Regions from separate parts of the Homo sapiens genome. Here region 1 is linked to region 2. The links are contacts of gene promoters, found by promoter capture Hi-C in blood cells and fetal thymus (Javierre and others, 2016). All regions are on one chromosome and are shown on one strand. Each heading gives the region's core, a stretch centred on a gene start or on the middle of the fragment in contact. The rest is flanking DNA. Distances are from core to core; before and after follow the strand shown. Region 1 holds the start of KLK14 (kallikrein related peptidase 14). Region 2 holds the start of KLK5 (kallikrein related peptidase 5).

Evidence for each region. Contacts are between HindIII fragments. The CHiCAGO score rates a contact against its expected background, and 5 or more counts as called.
Region 1: a contact is called between the fragment with the promoter of KLK14 here and the fragment with the promoter of KLK5 in region 2, in 8 of 17 cell types (M2 macrophages, M0 macrophages, erythroblasts and 5 more). The highest score is 9.1, in M2 macrophages.

What each region holds. Positions count from the first base shown.
Region 1 is chr19:51,079,925-51,084,916 of GRCh38, forward strand. KLK14 (kallikrein related peptidase 14) reads right to left here and starts at 2,963. Exons shown (of 6, transcript NM_001369775.2): 1 at 2,798-2,963; 2 at 2,651-2,712; 3 at 1,608-1,779. The coding sequence starts at 2,690. The HindIII fragment of the contact is 24,105 bases long and covers 1,310-4,992 here.
Region 2 is chr19:50,949,163-50,954,294 of GRCh38, forward strand. It overlaps KLK5 (kallikrein related peptidase 5), which reads right to left and starts at 3,876. Exons shown (of 6, transcript NM_012427.5): 1 at 3,585-3,876; 2 at 3,423-3,506; 3 at 693-954. The coding sequence starts at 3,495. It overlaps LOC105372442 (a long non-coding RNA gene), which reads left to right and starts at 961. Exons shown (of 7, transcript XR_007067308.1): 1 at 961-1,145. The HindIII fragment of the contact is 21,591 bases long and covers 1-5,132 here.

The DNA.
Region 1 (4,992 bases), core at 1,713-4,212, 130 kb after region 2:
CTCCAGCTCCTGGCTTGGGAAGAAGGTGATGATTGGGAGAGCTTGGCTCCGTGCCAGGGTCTGTGCTGGGCTCGGTGCATTGAGTCCTAAGCGAAACTGCGTTATGAGTCTAGGCTCTAAATCGGAACTGATATTCCGGAGTAGGCACCATTCTGTTTCTAGCCTGGGTTCTGAGTTCTAGACATCTTAAACTTTTGACTCTATGCTAAGATCAGGATTCTAGATCGAACCTGGATTATGACTTGATTTATTTATTTATTTTTTTTTTGTGATGGAGTCTCGCTCTGTCACCTAGGCTGGAGTGCAGTGGCACGATCTCAGCTCACTCTCGACCTCCAACTCCCAGTTCAAGTGATTCTCCCGCCTCAGCCTCCCAAAGTGCTGGGATTACAGGCGTGAGCCACCGCACCCAGCCTCTACAGGTCTGTTTCATATTGGATTATAGGGCTCTTGGTTCTGGACTCTGGCCCTAGCCCTTGACCTCAGGTTGGGCTCTGGGTTCTAGTTGGAGCTCTAGGTTATGGCCCGGATCCAAGATTCTAGAGTCTGGTTTGCATTCTGGCCTTTATATTCTAGACTCTGGCCTGAGCTTTGATCTCTAGGTTCTAGACTGACCTGTTTATGGCATAGATATGGCTTATAGGCATTTTGACCTCTTGGCTGGGGTCTGGGTTGTAAGTTCAGATCTAGAATTTAGGAGGGGTCTAGGTTTTATATGGGGCTTCTGATTAGGATCTGCATTCTGGGATTTATTGATTGATTGATTGATATGGAGTTTCGCTCTTGTTGCCTAGCCTGGAGTGCAATGGTGCGATCTTGACTCACTGCAACCTCCGCCTCCCAGGTTCAAGTGATTCTCCTGCCTCAGCCTCCCGAGTGGCTGGGATTACAGGCATGTGCCACCATGCCTGGCTAATTTTGCATTTTTAGTAGAGACAGGGTTTCTCTATGTTGCTCAGGCTGGTCTCGAACTCCTGACCTCAGGTGATCTGCCTGCCTCAGCATCCCAAAGTGCTAGGATTATAGGCATGAGCCACCGCACCCGCCACATTCTGGGATTCAAACACTGGGTTGAAGTCTGCTCATAGCGGAGCTATAGACTAGACTCTGAACTAAACCTTGGGTGTGAAACAGCCTCCAGGTTTTGCCTCTATTCTTAGAGTTGTATGTTCCAGCTGTGAGCAGCGTTCTAGTTCTGGATTTATGGCTAGACTGCAGGTCCTGAACTGGGCTCTGAGTTCTACGTAGTGTCCTGAGTTTCTGAATGTAGACGGGGTCCTGAATTCAGCCACCAATCTGGAATGGGCTAAGCTTGGTCTCGATGTAATGTGTGGCCTCTGGAAGAATCACTGGATCAGATGTTCGGTTCTCAGCAGGTCCATGGGTTCCAAGCTGCCCATCTGCTTTCAGAACCTATGCTGAGTTCGAGATTTATGGAGGAGCCCACATCCCGAGCTGTGTTTTTGTTCCAGGCTCTTCTCTAGACCTCAAACCAGGAGCCAGCCACTACATTGGGTTCTATACAGAGATCCAGGTTCTCAGCTCAGCTCTAGGGCTTTAGACTCTGGAATTCACTAGGTACAGGGACAGGGGAGGGGGTCACTTACGGGCGGCCGCAGTGAGCAGCAGTGATGACCCACTGGCCTGAAAGCAGGGCGCCTCCGCAGAGGAAGCGGCGCCTGGGACCCGCCAGCAGGGCCGCCTGCCACGGCTGGGAGCTCCGGGTGCACGTATGGCCACCAATTATCTTGTTCTCATCCTCTTGGCTCTGTGTCATGGCTAGGAGTGGACAGGATTGGGTGGGGAAAGTAGATGAGCAAACACTCTCCACTCCACAAGTTTGTAGGATTCCAAAACTGACAAATCCCCTTCCTTTTGGTCTAACCCCTAAACTGCCCGCCTCTATCTGTCCCACCCAGGGTGAGACATGCCCAATATTGACCCCGTTATTGCCCCAGCACGGAGAGCTTTCTGACTCACCTCCCAAGTCACCTCCGTAGCATCTCTTATTTTGTGCCGTGGCCACCTTATCCAGGGCCTTGCTACATCTACGACCCTTAGCTCTATGCTCCCATAATTTCTGTGATCACTTCTCGAAATATGCCACATTTCCCCCCAATGAGTCCTTCCCCAACACATTCAAGGACCTCCCTGTCTCCTCCCCAACGTTCCCACTCAGTGGGACCCCAAGGATCCGCCATCTCTTGCCCCACACTTGCCCCCATCCACCTCACACACCCATGCCACGATCCCGCCACCCCATGCCACGATCCCGCCATCCCATCATCCTTCTCCACCTTCCCTCTGACAACAAAACATCTTTCTGACATTGTTTCTTTCCTAACACAGTCAGGTAGAGCCCCGTGATCTTTCTGCTATGACCCACTCAGGACCTAATAGTTCCCTAAGATTCCTTATGTATTTTGCACCAGACCTTATAAACACCTCTCTCCCCGGCCCCACAATTCCCTAGCACCTCCACAACTAGGAATTTAGGCCTCCAGCACGTTCCCCCACCATGACCCCCAAACCACTCCCTGCTCTTTCTTATGAGGTCACCATGAGCATCCAGGGGCCCCAAGGACCCATCCCCATCTCTTCTCAGAGTCTCCAGGGGACCCCCTTGTGTCATACCCAACCGTTCTCTTACCTATAGCCAGGACTTGAAGTGCTGTCAGCAGGAGGAACATTTTAGGGGCTGAGGGCCAGGTCCTGTCAAATGCAGAGAAAAAGTGAGAGAGAAGGAACCTTCAACAGAACCGGGGGCTGAGAGGCAGAGACAGCAAGGGGCACTTACCCAGAGCCCAAGACCCTCAGGGACATGAAGACACAGCAGAGAGGTAGGGACCAGAGACGAGGGGGGCGGGGCCTGCAGGCTCTGCGGGCGGCAGGTGGGAGGATGTGGAGCAGGGCACAGGTCCCTCCTTGATGTCTTGATGAAGGAAGGAGGGGAGGTGTCTCTCTTCCTAGTCACACTGGCAAAGCCTTTTATCCCTGGTAAGGACAGCTGGCCCTGCCCCCACCTCCCGCCGCCCTGCTTCTGACATTTTTTTTTTTTTATTGCCTAGTTCCCATTCCAGGACTCCCTGATCCCATCCCCTCCCTCCCCTGTCTGGCCAAAAAAGCAGCCACAATTGTTCATGAGAACCCGCCCAGGGAAGATGCTATAATCTAGAAGGAATCCTGGGAGGGGACCCCAGGGCAGGGTGGGCAGGGGAGGGTTCCCAGTTGCTGGAGGTGGTGGATCTAGTGGTGGAGTCAGGAAACCAGGGTGGGGAGTGTCAGAGGAAAGGGCACGAAGGGGCTGAGAGAGGGAGGAAGAGATGGACTGAGAGAGGGAGTCACGGGAGGAGGGAGAGAGGGAGAGAGAGAGAGAGAGAGAGAGAGACAGAGAGAGATGGAGAGAGAGAAAGACAGAGAGACACACAGACAGAGAGAGACAGAGACAGGGTGACGGGGGGGAGAGAGAGAGAGAGATGGAGAGAGAGACAGAGAGAGAGCCAGACAGAGAGACACAGAGAGAGAGAGAGAAAGAGAGAGACAGAGACAGAGTGACAGAGAGGGGGAGAGCAAGAGACAGAGAGAGACTGGGAAAATGAATGAGAAGATATGACAGTGGAGAGAGAGGAGTCCAGGAATACGAGCACAGAGGCAGGTGTGCTCATGAGAGAAGGAACTGAGGAGAGAGCTGGAGAAACCGGTGGAAGTTGGATGTGACAGGGAACAGAAGAGGCAGACGGTGGGAAAAAAACAAGACAGAGGAAGAGGGAGACACAGAGACGCAGGGAGAGAGGGGTGTGGAGAAGTGGAGATAGAAAAGCAAAAGACGGAGGGAAGAAGGTGGAGATAGAATGGAAACAGACACACAGAAAGAGAAAACAGTGGAGAGAGAGGAGAGAGGCCGAGACGCCCCCACCATGCGGCACTCACCACAAACACACACAGAACAACAGCGATGATGATGAAGGCAGTGCGGGCATGAGACGTGGAAGAGAACGGGACATGGTGGGAGAAAGAGGATGGGACAGGCAGGCCGATGGCAGAGGGGAGACGGGAAGGATGGGCACCTACAGGGGATGGGGACAATGACAGAGGAGACGGAGGCCTAGATGAGAGATGGCAGCGCCAGGGAGAGATGGAGAGGAGGGGTGGGATAGAGGACGGGCAGGAGGTGGGCGGGAGATACCTGGACCTGGAGCAGAGCTGCCCACCTTGCTTTCTCACTTTCGACTCCTGAGAGATGGGGGAGCAGAGGCCCCAGCAGGGAGCAGGAAGGTTGGTGCCAGAACTGGCATTCCCCAGCTTGGGATCTGCTAGGTGCAGAGACAAAGTGAGAGCTGGAGATGCAAAGAGAGAGTGACAGAGACCCAGAGAGGGGGACAGAGACCCAGAGGGAGAGGGAGAGAGACCCAGAAAGAGAAGGGGACAGAGATTCAGAGACAGAAGGACAGTCTTAACAGACGGGGTTGGAAATTCAAAATAGGAGACGGCAGAGAGCAGGAGAGACAGAGTGAATGAGATGGGGAAGGATTCTGGCCAGCCTGCAGGGGGGTTCTGGAGTTGGGGGGGTTCCATCCTCATTTGGGGGAGGGCCTACCCTCCTCAGCCCCTCCCCTAGCCCCTTAAATTCCCCAGTGCTTGTGTCCGTCTCTGGGCCTGGGCAGCCCCGTACCTGGACCACGTGGTGACTCAGGAGGCTGCTTGCCTCCCTTGGCTACCCCAACTGTTCCCCGGCCTCAGCCTGACTCAGCCTCCCTCCACCTCGGCACCCCCCTAGGCTGGCTCTTTGAGCTGGAGCTTGGCCTGGGTCTGTCTGTACACCTGGGGACGCACTGTCTGGGCACCTGCATCTGGAGCCACACACCCATCTCTCCCCAGGTGCCTTTCTGTGATTCCTGAACTGTTTCTGTTTAACTATGGGCCTCCCTGCTTTGAGCTGAAGGCCTTGGGAAGCCTTCCCGGCCTCCTCTGCCTTGGTTCAGGCTCGGCATC
Region 2 (5,132 bases), core at 2,626-5,125:
CGTCCAACGCCAATCCCAACCCCACACCCAGCCCCAGCCCCACCCCCATCCCCACCCCCGGTCCCCAAACCATCCTCAACTCCCTCTTGGTCTCCAATCCCATGCCTGTCCCCATCCCAGTCACAATTCCAAACCCATCCCATTCCCAACCCTAATTCTTTCCCTACCCAGAAGCCATCACCATATGCATTCTCAAGCCCAAATCCAACCATCTCCAACCCCACCCAAAACTCCAATCCCCATCCTTCATTCTATATCTGCTCCCAATCTCAACCCTATCTCCATGCTATCTTCATTTCCACCCCAGCCCGATTTTCACCCACCCCCAATTCTAAAGCCAATCCCAATTCCACCTCCATCCCAAACCATTCAACAAATATATGCTCCTAACCCCAAATCCAACCCATCCTTGGCTCCTTCCCATTCCCTACCACAACACTCTCCCCTCTCCAACCTCATCCTCCCACCTTGCTCCCCCGCAAAACTCCATCCTTAGTCCTATCCCCAACTCGACCTCCTCCTGCTCCCACATCCCCAACCCATCCCCACCAACCCTCACCTTCCATGACACCCCCAACCCCACTTCCCCGTCCCCACCAGCCCTCACCTCCATGACACCCCCACCCCCACTTCCCCACCCCCACCCCCACTTCCCCGTCCCCACCAACCCTCCTCTTGGAACTCCCACTCACTTCTTCCTGCAGTGGGCGGCCGTGAGCAGCCACTGTGGATGCACCAACACCGCCCCGCAGTAGAGCTGGTTGGGCCTTAGCAACAGCGCGGCCTGCCACGGCTGGGTGTGCATATCGCAGTCGGATCCATTGATGATGCGGCTGCTGCTGTCATCCGACCGGGCGTCTTCCCCGGCCCCAGCTCCCAGGTCCTGGTTGCTCCCAGAGGGCACGGTGTTAGAGGGGTGGTCACAGGAAACATCATTGTTGGCGAGAACATGCTCTGGGAACGGAAAATGGGTTGGGCGGGGCTCAGAGGCGGGGCTTGGGCTGGGGGTGGGTTTCAGACTCAAGAGGCCAGACCAGCTAGAGGGTGGGTGTCTGACATGCTGAGGGGGCAGGGGCAGGGCCTGGAGAATAAGAGTGGCACCTCTCAAGCCCAGGCTCAAGCTCAAGGACAGAGCCCAGGCTCAGGTAGGGTTACTGGACTCTAACTGGACCTCACAGATTCCTGGAATTGGCTAGAACTACATGTGAGGGTAAAATTGGGTACAGGATTCCTGGACAAGCTCAGGGGTAGTGCCAAAGCTGTGGGGGCTGGAGCCTGGGGATGGGAGGGAGACCAGGGCTTTAGGGATGGAACTGGTCTCAAGAAGTGGGGTCAGGCCTCAGTGAGTGGGGTCAGGGCTGGAGGCAGGAAGGGGTTTGGAATTGACTTAGTTAGGGCCAGGGTCAGGGTTACATGTTAGAGTCTCCTATAAAGAGCTCTGACTTTGGGCTGGGGGCGGTGGCTCACGCCTGTAACCCCAGCACTCTGGGAGGCCGAGGTGGGCGGATCACCTGAGGTTGGGAGTTTGAGACCAGCCTGGCCAACAAGGTGAAACCCTGTCTCTACTAAAGACACAAAAATTAGCCAGGCGTGGTGGCGCGCACCTGTAATCCCAGCTACTCAGGAGGTGGAGGCACGAGAATCACTTGAACCTGGGAGGCAGAGGTTGCAGTGAGCCGAGATCACGCCACTGCACTCCAGCCTGGGAGAGAGAGCAAGACTGTCTCCAAAAAAAAAAAAAAAAAAGCTCTGACTTTGAAGGGGGTTCTAGAAGGTACCCACAGAATAGGGGGTGGAGCCTGGCCCAAAGGGGTGTGGCCTTAGGCGGGGTCCACTAGAGTCTGGCCTAGGGGCGTGGTTGAGGAAAGGAGGTGGGGTCAGAGCTCATGGGCGGAGCTAGGGTTCCGAAAGCAGGACCAGGAAAGAAGGGCTCAGCTTAGGGGGCCACATGGAGGGGAAGAGCAGGCCTAGGTTTCTGAATTCTCAGATGAAAACATGCCTTCTCAATCCTGTCAATCTCCTCCTCTCACACACAGACCTACAGACTACATGCATGCCCCACTCCATCATCAGTCCTCCCGTGCCCATTCACTGGTTCTTACCCTTTTTTTTTTCTTTTTTTCTTTCGAGACGGAGTTTCGCTCTTGTTGCCCAGGCTGGAGTGCAATGGCGCGATCTCGGCTCACCGCAACCTCCACCTCCCGGGTTCAAGCGATTTTTCTGCCCCAGTCTCCCGAGTAGCTGGGATTACAGGCACGCGCCACCACACCAGCTAATTTTTTGTATTTTTAGTAGAGACGGGGTTCTCCATGTTGGTCAGGCTGGCCTCGATCTCCCGACCTCAGGTGATCCGCCTGCCTCGGCCTCCCAAAGGGCTGGGATTACAGGCGTGAGCCACCGCGCCCGGCCTGGTTCTTACCCTTGCTGATGGCCCTGGCACCACCATCATTCACGAACTCACCCCAAGAACCACGCGCACAACAGCAGTAACAGCCAAGCACGCACGCAGTTCTGCAGACACGCCCATGTTGCCTCCACAGGTGCAGCTAACATACAGCTCTGTCTCCAGGTACACACGCTCCCGGGCAGCCTAGCGGGATCGCACACCCTCATCCACAGTGTCTCAGTGCCACGCACAGATGCCGTGTGTGCACAGATGTTCAGACTGCCACATACTCTTCTGCACACAGGCACACACTGCAAGTCAGTCACCTGGCACCCATCTCCCAGAGATAGCTACCCCTGCACCCTCTATCCCTCCAGGCAGAGACAGAAACTCCAGACACACAGCTGCACCATCACACATACAGTAGCATTTACACGGCCTCACACAGACACACACAGTCACATACAGTCACCCCTACACAGAGCTTCAGGTAGTCACACGGTCACAAATACGGGCATCCATAACGTCACACTCAGCCACAATCACATAATCGCCTGCAAGCAGCACACAGTCACAGCTTTCCATGGTGATGACCACTTTTGTTGCACGCAATCCCGGGACCTCAGGGACAGGAACTGCAGATACCTGCAGTCATATACAATGCCAAGTCACCACACACAGCCAAACACACAGTGAACACCCCCAGTGCTACATGCATTCACCCACACAGCTGTGGAGCCACACACAATCTTAAATGCACACACAATCACAAAACCACACACACAGCCTCAAAGGGTCAGTGCCACCTGCCGCACAGTCACCTGATATGGGAAAAGGCATCCCCCTCCCCGACACACACCGTGGCAGTCACAGGGCCACATACGATCGCACAACCACAAGTACAGACAGAGACTCACATTCACCCGGTCCCGGAGTCATGCCCAGGCTCACACAGTTCCCCAGGGGACAGGCGCTCTAGTGCCGCAGAGACAGTCCTCCCAATCCCACAACCCTCCCACCCCAGAGTTCTGGTTACCTGTGACCCCCAGAAGCAAGGCTGTGATCAGAGCACAGAGCACCCACATCCAGGGGGGTCTTGCTGTAGCCATGGCCGCTGCACCTGGATGGGGAATGTCAGAGGGTTGGGAGGCCCAGGCGATCCGGGGAGCCCTTAACCCACTTCCCCTCCCTCCCCTACCTTATTTCCCCAGGTAGAGAGGAACCACAAGGACGGGCCACCATCGGCACTGCGCTGAGACCCAGGCACTATAGAATTCAGAAGATAGGAGTCTAGCAGCCTCCAGACAGGGCAAGGAGGGGACAGAGAAAGATGTGGGTGCAGGACGCACAGACACCTCTCCTTCCCTGCCTGCTGAGCCACCCTCACCAGGTCTCACTTGCCCTGTCCCCCAGGTAGGGGGTGGGGGATTTGCTCCCAGCTCAGCCGCAGACTTCTCAGGCCTGTGCCTTCCTGGCCACTGCCTCCTCCTGGGCTCTGGGCACCGGGCCTGAGTTATAACCACCCACTGCTCCCTGGGGCACATTCCCGGGCAATGAGGTGCCTATCGGGCCTTAGCAATAGCTCCTCCTGCTCCCCCTATCTCCACCCCCAGAGCACCCCCCACCCAGTCCGGAATGTCACTCCCTACCTCCCTGGCCCGGAGAATGGGGAGGGGTCTCCGGAAGCCAGGCCAGCCCCTTCCCTGCCTCCCCCAGCCTTAAGGATCTGGCTTCTCACCAACTCTGGGTCACTATTCTTGGCGCCTGGATTGCTTGCTTTCTTCTCTGCATTTTGCTCATTCCACCACTGTCTGTTCACCCTCGATACTCCTCTTTCCATCTTTGTCTCTGGTTTTTTCTCAGAGTCTTCTTCCATCTCTCTGTGGTTCTCCCTCGGCTATCTTTCTGAGTCTCTCTCAATATCTCGTGTCTCTCTCCACCCCTCTCTCTCTTTCTATCCCTCTCGCCTCTCTGTCTCTCTGTCTCTGTCTCTCTCTCTCTGTCTTTTTCTCTGTCTGTCTCTCACTCACTCTCTCTCTCTCTCCTCCTGTCTGTCTTAGGAGCCTTGTTTTGTTCTCCTTGGGCCACAGGTGTTTCTGTCTCCCTGTTCCTCCCTGTCTTTCTATGCCTCTGTGATTCTTTCTTTTTTAAAGGTTCTGAATGATTTGTCAAATATACCTTAGAGTTCTTGGCCCATTTATTTTCCTTTATTTCACTTCTGCTCTATTTGTTGACAGCATTTTTTTTTTAGATATAACTAAGGTACAACAAACTGCTTGTTCGTTTGTTTATTTATTTATTTGAGACAGAGTCTTGCTCTGTCGCCCAGGCTGGAGGGCGGTGATGTGATCTCGGCCCACTGCAACCTCCGCCTCCAGGGTTCAAGTGACTCTCGTGCCTCAGCCTCCAGCATAGCTGGGATTACAGGTGTGCCCCACGACACCCGGCTGATTTTTTTTTTTTTTTTTTTTTTTTTAGTAAAGACAGAGTTTCACCATGTTGGCCAGGCTGGTCTCAAACTCCTGGCCTCAAGTGATTCACCCACCTCTGCCTCCCAAAGTGCTGGAATTACAGGCATGAGCCACGGTGCCTGGCCCAAACTGCATATTTAAAGGGTAGAGTCTGATGGCTTTAGGTACTTGTCACATCAGCATAGTCAAGAAGATGATCATGGCCGGGCGCGGTGGCTCACGCCTGTAATCCCAGCACTTTGGGAGGCCGAGGCGGGCGGATCACGAGGTCAGGA